2 separate regions of the Homo sapiens genome follow, and region 2 is linked to region 1. The links are contacts of gene promoters, found by promoter capture Hi-C in human tissues and cell types (Jung and others, 2019). All regions are on one chromosome and are shown on one strand. The core of a region is centred on a gene start or on the middle of the fragment in contact, and the rest is flanking DNA. Distances in the headings are between cores, read along the strand shown. Region 1 holds the start of BCL7A (BAF chromatin remodeling complex subunit BCL7A). Region 2 overlaps TIALD (transcript inducer of AURKA lysosomal degradation).

Region 1 (5,498 bases), core at 761-3,260:
CGACAGAAGGGACCCAGGCACAGACACCAGTTCTTTCTTTGCACAGGGGCTGAGGCAAGGAGGGGAGCAACTCCGGGCTTCCCGCGGGGAATCCCACAGTAGAGGGGGCTGCGGGTTGTTTTCCAGCGTGTGTGTGTTGGCCTGCAGCTGTTTCTGCCATTTTTAAATGGCTCCAGTCGGGCACCGGGCACCCTGTGTACCAGGGGAGCTCCCGAGACACCGACGACTTGGATCTCAACTTTGGAAAGCCTCCCCTTCTCACGGTTCTGAAAATTCTTTGTCCCACTGGAGCCAAACCCAGCCCACGGCCGGGCATCCGGCCATCGCAGCCAGCCCTTTCCATAGGAGGCCGGGGAGCACGTGGACTTTATTGATTTTCCTCTTGCCTTTTTTGTTGGGTTTGACTCAGAAAGGACAGCTAACTTGTGACACCGCCACACCGGAGGCTCGCCCCCAGTGGCTTTTAGAGACCGAGGCGCTACTCGAGAAACGACACCCCCAAACGTAAACATCCCCTGCCACAGGGCCTGCCCAGCTTCCAGGCTCGAAATAAAGGGTCGAGACGAGCCCGCGGGCGCTGACACTCAGAGCCAGCGTTGCGGCGGCTCCTCTCCCTCCGGGACCCCAGTGAAGGCGTGGGAAAAAAATAATAAAGTTGAAATCAGGCAGCGGGGAGTTTTCAACAACTCTGACCCAACCTGGCGATCTGCTTGCGCCTCGGGCCTGGCCCAGGGGCCGATTCCGAGCAGACCCCGACGAGGCCGCGGAAAGGTTCGATCCCCTTAATGTCGACCGGGCCACGCCGGGCGGACGCTAATGTGATCCCGAAAACCACGCGCGGCCGCCACCAAGTCCCCCTCTCCCCGGTGCAGAGAACAAAAACAACAGCTCCCTCCGCAAAACAAACACGAGCTCCCGGTGTGGAGAGGCAGCCGCGGCCCAGGACGAACGGCTTCTGGCCAAAAACATCGGCTGGCCCGAGCCCCCCGCCCGGGGCGCCGCGCAGAGCGGGGTGGGACGTGGGCGCCCCGCGCCCCTGGCCGCTGGCTCCCAGCGCTCGCCCCCATCTTTCCTGGTCGCCGAGAGCCCTCGCTCCAGGCAGCCCAAAGCGCTAAATTTAAACGGCTCGCGCTCTGCAAACTCCGCAGACTCGAGGGCGCCGGGCCCGGGAGGCGGGAGCGGGCGGCCGGGCGGGCCGGGGCTGGCGGAGGGCGGCGGGGCGCGGGCCGGGGTGCGCGGGGAGGAGACGGCGGCGGCGGCCCGCTCGGAGCCTGCACAATGGAGCTCGCGCTCTCCCCGCCGCCGCCGGCATCGCGGCCCCGGCGCGCGGGAAGCCGCTTTCATGTGACTTGCACAAAACGAAATGGCTTCTGGGGCCGGCCCCGAGCCCCCCTCCCGGGAGCCGAGCGCCGCGGCGGGGGCCGCCCCGCCGCTCCAACCGCCTGGCCCCGGCGCCCGCCGCCTCCGGGCCGCCGCGCCAGGTGGGCTACAGGCGCGAGCGCACCTGGGCAGCGGCCGCGGCCCCAGCCTGGCGCAGGTGACCCGGCTCGCGCGCCGCCCGCCCGTCCGCCCGCCCTCGCCAAGTCCCGGGGCCCGCGGCGGGGCTGGGCCGGGGCAGGCGGCCGGGGCGCTGCGCCCCGCGGCTCTCTGGAGCCGCGCTCGGGCTCGGGGCGGCCGGGGAGGCGGCTGGCGGCGGGCGCCTCCGCTTACCATTTGCGCACTTTCTCGATCGCCGCCATGACCCTCTTGATATCATCTTTGGCCCGGCTCCTCGTCTCGGCTCGAACCGACCTGCCCGACATGGTTCCGGCGGGGAGACGGAGGCTGGGGAGCGCGCCCGCCGGGTCCTGCTCGCGCTCCGCGGCGGCCACACTCGCGCCCGCCCGCCGCTCACTCACTCGCGCACAGACACTCGCACTCTCACACGCACACACTCACACACACACACACACACACACACACATACACACACACACAAAGCCCGGGGCCGCCGCGCGCCTGGCCCAGTGCGCAAGCGCCGGGCGGCAGCTGCACAGAGCAGGGGGAGCCGCGCCGCCGCCGCCGCCGGCAGTGCGGCCTCCGGGCGCCGCGGCCACCGGGCAGCGCCCCCGGGCCTCCTGCGCCCCCAGAGGGGACGCCCCGGACGCCCTCCTGGGGAGGTGGCGAAGGGCGCACGGCGACCCCCGGCTCTGGGCGCGCGGTGGGGGCGGGCGTGCGGACACGCGCGCTGACCCTTCCTCGGAGGCTGCAGGTGCCGAGGGGTCCATGGGAGACAGCCGGTCTGCGGGGCGCGGGGGGGTCGCGTTCCCCGGGAGCCAGCCCAGCTGCCCCTGCCCAGCCCCCAGAGCGCGGCGGCGGGTGCAGTCGTGCAAGTTTCTTGCGGGTCTCTTGACTTCTCCGAGTTGAAGGCACCGGTTCGGGACGCGAGGTGCTCTTGGAAAGAGTTGGGCATCGCGCATCTCTGCTGGCCCGCGGCCCTGTTCAAATGCGAGCTAGGACGTCGCCTGCCCCAGGCTTTGTCCTTTTGGAAAACTAGGGTTGTAGGAAGGTGCCTGGTGCCAGGCAGACCACCAGAGACTCTCGACCTTGAGTACTAAAGAGTTTTCTGCTCAGCAAAAGCTCAATGATGATCAGCATCGTAACAGGGACTCTTCCTCCCGCCCCCAGAAGTTCTCTTGTCATAAACAAGGCGAGGGGGTCTTCGCTGAGCTTCACCAGAGGACCACGATTTCACCTTAAGCCATTCCTGACTTCAGTACCAGACTGAGACCAGGCGCTGCTACTGCCCAAATGACCCCTGGTCCCATCTACAAGGAGCACTTTTGAGGCCTCAGAACAGAGCCCCGGGGAGAAATCTGCGATGATCAGGGTAACCTGGGTGCCGCATCTTGCTGTTCAGCTGCAGCGGAACCGGCCGGACCAGAGCTAATGCGCGCCCAGAATGAAGAGGGAGACCGAGAGTGGCCCAAATGTCAGCGCCCCGGGCCTGGAGATGACAGCCCGACAGCAGCCATTTCACAGCTGGGGAAACTGAGTCCTGGGAAAGTTTAAGGTTGCAGCCTTAAGTTGTTACTCATTCTAGACGTTTCCCCTGAGGGTTTGGTCTTTGGGGAACACGCTACTGTGGAAATGGAGAGACCGCAGGCCTTTTCCTAGGCATTTGTTTTTACTATTCTGAAACGCAGTCTCCTGACGTGAAAAATGAAGAAAAGAACAAATACTGGCCGGGCGCGGTGGCTCATGCCTGTAATACCAGCACTTTGGGAGGCCGAGGCGGGTGGATCACTTGAGGTTAAGAGTTCGATACCAGCCTGGCCAACATGGTGGGTGAAACCCCGTCTCTACTAAAAATACAAAAATTAGCCGGGCGCGGTGGTGGGCTCCTGTAATCGCAGCTACTCGGGAGTCTGAGGCAGGAGACTCGCTTGAACCTGGGAGACGGAGGTTGCAGTGAGCAGAGATCCAGCCACTGCACTCCAGCCTGGGAGACAGAGTGAGACCCTGTCTCAGAAAAAAAAAAAAGGCCGGGCGCGGTGGTTCATGCCTGTAATCCCAGCACTTTGGAGGCCGAAGTGGGCAGATCACGAGGTCAGGAGTTCGAGACCAGCCTGGCCAACATGGAGAAACCCTGTCTCTACTAAAAATACAAAAATTAGCTGGGCGTGGTGGTGCAGGCCTGTAATCTGAGCTACGCGGGAGGCTGAGGCAGGAAAATGCTTGAACCTGGGAGGCAGAGGTGCAATGATCATGCCATTGCACTCCAGCCTGGGCAACAGAGCAAAACTGAATCTCAAAAAAACAAAACAAAACAAAATAAAACAAAACAAAACAAAAAAAGAAAGAGAGAAAGAAAAAGAAAAAAAAGAGAAAGAGAAAGAAGGACTTCAGAGAATCGTTCCGAGAATTTTCTGGGAAAATATGCAACAGCAGGTCATAAAACAGATCTCACAGAGATATGTGAGATCAATAGGTATGTGCTTTGGGCCACATGAAACTTTAAAAAAATGTATCTTAAAATTTAAAATAGGAAAATATTATGTCAGAATTCAAATAGTGACTGAGGAACAGATAAATGTGTCTATCCACACAATGGAATATTATTCAGCCATAAAAGGGAATGAATACATGCTACAACATGGGTGAACCTTGAAACACGCTAAGTGAAAGAAGCCAGTCACAAAAGGATAAATATGCGTAAGTCCATTTGCGGGAGATATCTACAACTAGGCGAATCCATAAAGACAGATATCAGATTGGTGGTTGCCAGAGGCAAGGGGGAGGGAGAGCAGGAGTGACTGCTAACGGATGTGGGGTTTCCTTTCGGAGTGATAGGAAAGTTCTGGAATGAGATAGTGGTGATGGTTGCAGAACAATGTGAATGTACTTAATGACGCTGAATTGTACACTTTTAAATGGTTACAATGGTCAATTTTATGTGTATTTGATCATAATAAAAAGAAATCTAGGCTGGGCGCGGTGGCTCACATCTGTGATTCCAGCACTTTGGGAGGCCGAGGTGGGTGGACTGCTAGAGGCCAGGAGTTTGAGACCAGCCTGGGCAACATGGTGAAACCCCATCTCTACAAAAAATTCAAAAAATAGCCAGGTGTGGTTGTGCGCATCTGCAGCCCCAGCTGCTCAGGAGGCTGAGGTGGGGAAGATGGCTTGAGCCCAGAACGTAGAGGCTGCAGTGAGCCAAGATCATGCCACTGCATGAAGCAAAGAAAGAGAGAGAGAGAGAGAGAGAGAGAAAAGAAAGAACGAAAGAAAGAAAGAAGAAAAGAGAGAGGGATGAGGAGAAGGAGAGAGGGAGGGAAGGAAGAAGGAAGAAAAAGAGGGAAGGAGGGAGGGAGGAAGGAAGGAAGGAAAAAAAAAAATACCCAGCTTCTCTAGAACCAGCAGATCTGCAAACTGGACCCTCAGTGCCACATGGCACCCATCGGCTAGAGCAGAGAGCTCTGTCTGTATCTTTCAGACAGAGTTATCTGGGTCACCAGTGCACTCATAGCCACTTTACTCATTTGTGTTACCTGTCTGGCCCCTGAAAGTATTTGTGATTTTGATCCCCAATAAAACCATAAAGCTTTCTTCAAATGTCCTTTGTAAATCTAGTATGTCACTTTTAGTAGTTTCCTGTCTCCTGCAGGTATTTTTACACTTCTTTCTTTCAACAAAGCACAGTAGTTTTACAGCCTGTGTCTGATGATTCTAGTATTTGAAGTCTCCAAGAGTCTGTTTCTGCTAGGTCTTGCTCATGGTGTCATAGTTCCTTGTTATATGCCTGGTTCTCTTTGACCATGCTGGACACTATTTTAAAATTTATTCATAGGGATAATTTGAGGCCTCCCCCTAGAAATAATTTATATTTGCTTCTGCCAGGCCCCTCAGGTCACTGCTAGTCTGGGGTGACCTCAATCCTAGTTCAGGGTTTGTGAGCCCCCGACCACTCAGGTGATGCGAATCCTGGCCGCATAGTTGTGCAAGACTGGTTGACTTCT
Region 2 (4,971 bases), core at 2,392-4,891, 150 kb after region 1:
AGGGAAGTAGCTCCTATTCACTCAGGAGAGCCCACGGTCAATTCTCCAGGAAGTTTGTGGGCCAGTTTTTATTATTATTATTTTTTAGACACAGTCTCGCTGTGGCCCAGCCTCAAGTGCAGTGGCACAATCTTGGCTCACTGCAGCTTCCACTTCCTGGGTTCCAGCGATTCTCCTGCCTCAGCCTCTCAGGTAGCTGGGACTACAGGCGCCCGCCACCACGCCCAGCTAATTTTTGTATATTTAGTAGAGATGGGGTTTCGCCATTTTGACCAAGCCTGTCTGAAACTCCTGACCTCAGGTGATCCTCCCACCTCGGCCTTCCCAGGTGCTGGATTACAGGCGTGAGCCACCACGCCTGGCCTCAACTTCCTAATCATTTTTACTAAGTTTTAGTATCACCAATGCTGTCTCTTCTCTTCTCTACTCTGTTCTTTTTGAGATGGGATTTTGCTTTGTTGCCCAGGCTGGTCTTGAACTCCAGGACTGAAATGATCCTCCAGACTCAGCCTCCCAAAATGGTGGGAATATAGATGTGAGCCAATGTACCCAGCCTCATCTGTGCTTTTGGGGTTATTTACTTCTGTTTGTATCCGTTTGGTATGTACTGTACTTAGCTTAACCCCAAGTTCAATGACTTCATGTTGATACTCGAAATTGACCATACCGGCCAGGTGCAGTGGCTCATGCCTGTAATCCCAACACTTTGGGACGCCGAAGTGGGCAGTGTACTTGAGCCCAAGAGTTTGCCACCAGCCTGGGCAACATGGTGAAACCCTGTCTATATAAGAAATTCAAAAATTAGCCGGGCTTGGTGGCACATACCTATAATTCCAGCTACTTGGGAGGCTGAGGTAGGAGGATTGCTTCAGCCTGGCAGATGGAGGTTGCAGTGAGCCGAGATTGAGCCACTGCACTTCGGTCTAGGTGACACAGTGAGACCATGTCTCAAAAAAAAAAAAAAAAGAAAGAAAGAAAAAGGGGGAGAAAAAAAAGAAAAGAAATTGACCATACAGAGTATCTACACCACAGAATTCAGGAAATGCTACAAACCAAGGTTACTGTTTTGTTGATTGCCTAGGCAGGGGTGGGTAAACCATGGCCCTTGGTCTAAATCTGGACCACTGTCTGTTTTTTCCCTCATTGACTGTTTTTGTAAATAAGTTTTTATTGGCACATAGCCACACCAATTTGTTCACCTATTGTCTGTGGCTGTTTGCAGGCTACAGTAGTTTCAGCAGAGGCCTGATAGCCCACAAAGCAGAAATATTTACCATATGGCTTTTTATGGAAAATGTTTGCCAGGCCTTGTTTTAGACTTAAGAAAGTGACAAGGCCAGGCACGGTGGCTCACGCCTGTAATCCCAGCACTTTGGGAGGCTGAGGCAGACAGATCACCTGAGGTTGGGAGTTCGAGACCAGCCTGACCAGCATGGAGAAACCCCTCTCTACTAAAAACACAAAATTAGCCGGATGTGGTGGCACATGCCTGTAATCCCAGCTACTCGGGAGGTTGAGGCAAGGGAATCGCTTGAACCCGGGAGGCAGAGGTTGCGGTGGGCAGAGATCGTGCCATTGCACTCCAGCCTGGGTAACAAGAGCGAAACTACGTCTCAAAAAAAAAAAAAGAAAGTGACAAAGAAAGTTCAGATGTTTCAGGTGTCTCCCAAATGGATGTTTCACATGCACACATCTCCCAAATGGATGTTAATGCCTTAAAATCTTGGAAGCAGGAACTGTTTTTGGTTTTGTTTGTTTGCTTGTTTGTTTGTTTTGAGATGGAGTTTTGCTCTTGTTGCCCAGGCTGGAGTGCAATGGCGTGATCTCGGCTCACTGCAACCTCTGCCTCCCAGGTTCAAGCGATTCTCCTGCCTCAGCCTCCCAAGTAGCTGGGATTACAGGCGCCCGCCACCACGCCCAGCTAATTTTTGTATTTTTAGCAGAGATGGGGGTTTCACCATGTTGGCCAGGCTGGCCTCGAACTCCTGACCTCAGGTGATCCACCCACCTCGGCCTCCCAAAATTCTAGGATTACAGATGTGAGCCACCGCACACGGCCTAGGAACTGGTTTTATGTTTGGATGATCACAAACATAGTAATATGAATGTGGCCTGGTGAGTTCCATGTAAGCATTTTCTAGCCACAAAGAACAAGTTATTTGGGCAATTCTTCCTCTTCTTGAATCTCAAGTTCCTCATCTGCAAAATGAGAGGAGAAAAATAGAAAGCTGAGAGATAAAATGGGCACAGTGCTTAGCCGTGGCATATACCGGGGGGTGCTGCCTCCATCACCTCTTTCCCACCCCATCAGGTACAAGTCATAAGGGAGCTGTCATGCGTTGGGTTGTCTAGGAGCAGAGGATGAGACAGAGCTTAGGGTGCAAGATTTTTTTCTTGCTGTTGTTTTGTTTGAGACAGGGTCTTGCTCTGTCACCCAGGCTGGAGTGCAGTGGCAAAATCATAGCCCACTGCAGCCTTGAACTCCTGGACAGAAGCGATCCTCTGCCTCTGCCTCCCAAAGCGCTGGGATTACAGGCGTGAACCGCCATGCCTGGCCATAAAATGATTTTTTTTTTTTGAGACGGAGTCTCTGTCTCCCAGGCTGGAGTGCAGTGGCGCGATCTCGGCTCACTGCAAGCTCCACCTCCCGGGTTCACGCCATTCTCCTGCCTCAGCCTCCCGCGTAGCTGGGACCACAGGCGCCCGCCAGCACGCCCAGCTAATTTTTTGTATTTTTTTAGTAGAGATGGGGTTTCATGGTGTTATCCAGGATGGTCTCGATCTCCTGACCTTGTGATCCGCCCGCCTCAGCTTCCCAAAGTGCTGGGATTACAGGCGTGAGCCACCGCGCCCGGCCATAAAATGATTTTAAGGATCCACATCAGTGAAAGGAAGCAGAGGAGGCTGGACTGGGGAGAAGGAGAACTCAGTGGTGGAGACTCCACAAGGCCTTGGCCAGCCCTACCGGGGCCCTGGAGACAGACTCACTGGTCAGAGTCACCCCCATTGGGCTGAAAGGGACCAGCCTCTCTACTCCCTTGCTCAATCACAAAAAGTGGGCTGCTCTGGGAAAGCTGTGGCCAAGTCTCTACAGCTGAGGCAGATCCGATAGGAGGTGACAGCCAACCAGTCTCCCTACAGCTGGGCATTGAGGCCTTCCTTGAAGGGTTATGGACAGTAGAATCTACCACAGGGATGCAATGTCTGCAGAGAGTTTTAAAATAATAATAAAAACTGCTAAAATCAGTCAACTTTATTTTATGTGTGCCAGCAAATGCAAACAAAATGATCAAGTACTACCTCCCTGTGGAACAGACAATCCCCATGATCCCTACCTCGGTGCTTGACAGTGAATACATGCTCACAGATGGTGGTGGTGTTATTGTTTCTTTCTTTGTGTTTGTCAGCACCAGTGGTTGTAAATGCCAGAAACCCAACTCAAACTAGCTTAAGCAAAAGGGAAAAAGGTTTGACTCATCCAGGAGCTTGTTTCTGCCTGGAACAAGTTGCTCAGACATCAGGAATCAGCCTATCTTCTCTCAGCTCTGGTTTCTCTGTTCTGGCTTTATATACAAGCATGTTTTCCTTCAGCTGACTCAGGGTTGGCCCCCGCAGCACCACTGGATCAGTGCAGCATACTCAGAGCTCAGAGTGAGCCTCTTTTCTCAAGCAGAAGATCCAGAGCAAATCCATATGGCCAGTTCTGGCCAGGTGCCCAGCCCTGAACCAATCACAGGGATTCTCACTGCCCAGTCCTGGCTCACATGCCCCACCCAAACGACATGAACGGAGCAGGGAAAGGATGGAGAAGGGAGACGCTGTTATGAGAACAGGAGTGGATGCTGGAGAGACAAGAAATTTTAGGCCAGGCACGGTGGCTCATGCCTGCAATCCCAATGCTTTGGGAGGCTGAGGCAGGTGGATCACTTGAGGTCAGTAGTTCAAGACTAGACTGGCCAACATGGTGAAACCCCGTCTCTACTAAAAATACAAAAGAAACTAACTGGTCCTGGTGGCGGGCTCCTGTTAGTCCCAGCTACTCAGGAGGCTGAGGCAGGAGAATCACTTGAAGCTGGGAGGCGGAGGTTGCAGTGGGAGTGCACCATTGCACTCCAGCCTGGGCGACAGAGCAAGACTCCATCTCTTTTTTTTTTTTGAGAGGAGTCTCGCTCTGTCGCCCAGGCTGGAGTGTAGTGGCGTGATCTTGGCTCACTGCAACCTCCGCCTCCCAGGTTCAAGCAATTCTCTGCCTCAGCCTCCTGAGTGGCTGGGATTACAGGTGCCCACCACCACGCCCAGCTAATTTTTTTTTTTTTTGTATTTTTAGTAGAGACGGGGTTTCACCATCTTGGCCAGGCTGGTCTTGAACTCCTGACCTTGTGATCCACCCGCCTCGGCCTCCCAAAGTGCTGGGATTACAGTCGTGAGCCACCGCGCCCAGCCCGAGACTCCATCTCAAAAAGAAAAAAAAGAGAGAAAAGAAATCTCCAGGACACTCCTCAATGCCCCGGTGCCAGGAACAGAGGACATCCTACGGTCCACACCAGCTCCAGTGCTCCCTGGCTTGCACAGTTAGGACACTAAGACTCAGAGGATGCCAGGAGTGGCCCAAGATTACACAGTCTTCAGAGCCCAGGGGTCCTATGTCCCGTGCCACCAACTCTCTGGTCCCTCCCAGCCATCACTGGTGCCTGGTGATACAGCTTCCTGTCACCACAAAGCTCAGACACATGGGCTCTGTACCTCAAGAGATAAAGACCAGCCCCACCTAAGTGGCCCTGCCCAGGATCACCAGCCCTGATAACAAGACTAGCTGGGCACCCGGGCCAGCCTTCACCTGCTCTGGTCCCAGCTGCCCTTGCTTGGGAGAGCTGTGGGGCCTGGCAGGGGAGGGGTGAGGTTCTGTCCATGGACTTCTGCCTCTGAATCCTCACTAGTTCTGCCTGTTTGGGAGTCTCCAGTTGTAGATTG

What was found. Contacts are between HindIII fragments. The study calls those that stand out against the background at their distance.
Region 2: a fragment that was not itself captured here is called in contact with the fragment with the promoter of BCL7A in region 1 in 1 of the 25 tissues and cell types used here (pancreas).

Annotation. Positions count from the first base shown.
Region 1 is chr12:122,018,396-122,023,893 of GRCh38, reverse strand. It overlaps BCL7A (BAF chromatin remodeling complex subunit BCL7A), which reads right to left and starts at 2,010. Exons shown (of 6, transcript NM_001024808.3): 1 at 1,711-2,010. The coding sequence starts at 1,802. RefSeq lists silencers at 1,292-1,451, 1,602-1,921, 2,052-2,131 and an enhancer at 642-1,457. The HindIII fragment of the contact is 14,578 bases long and covers 1-5,498 here.
Region 2 is chr12:121,871,423-121,876,393 of GRCh38, reverse strand. TIALD (transcript inducer of AURKA lysosomal degradation) reads right to left here. Exons shown (of 3, transcript XR_002957437.2): 3 at 2,057-2,199. It also overlaps a transcript of HPD not described here. Among named protein-coding and RNA genes, the nearest start is that of PSMD9, 15 kb to the left of the region's middle. The HindIII fragment of the contact is 7,965 bases long and covers 1-4,971 here.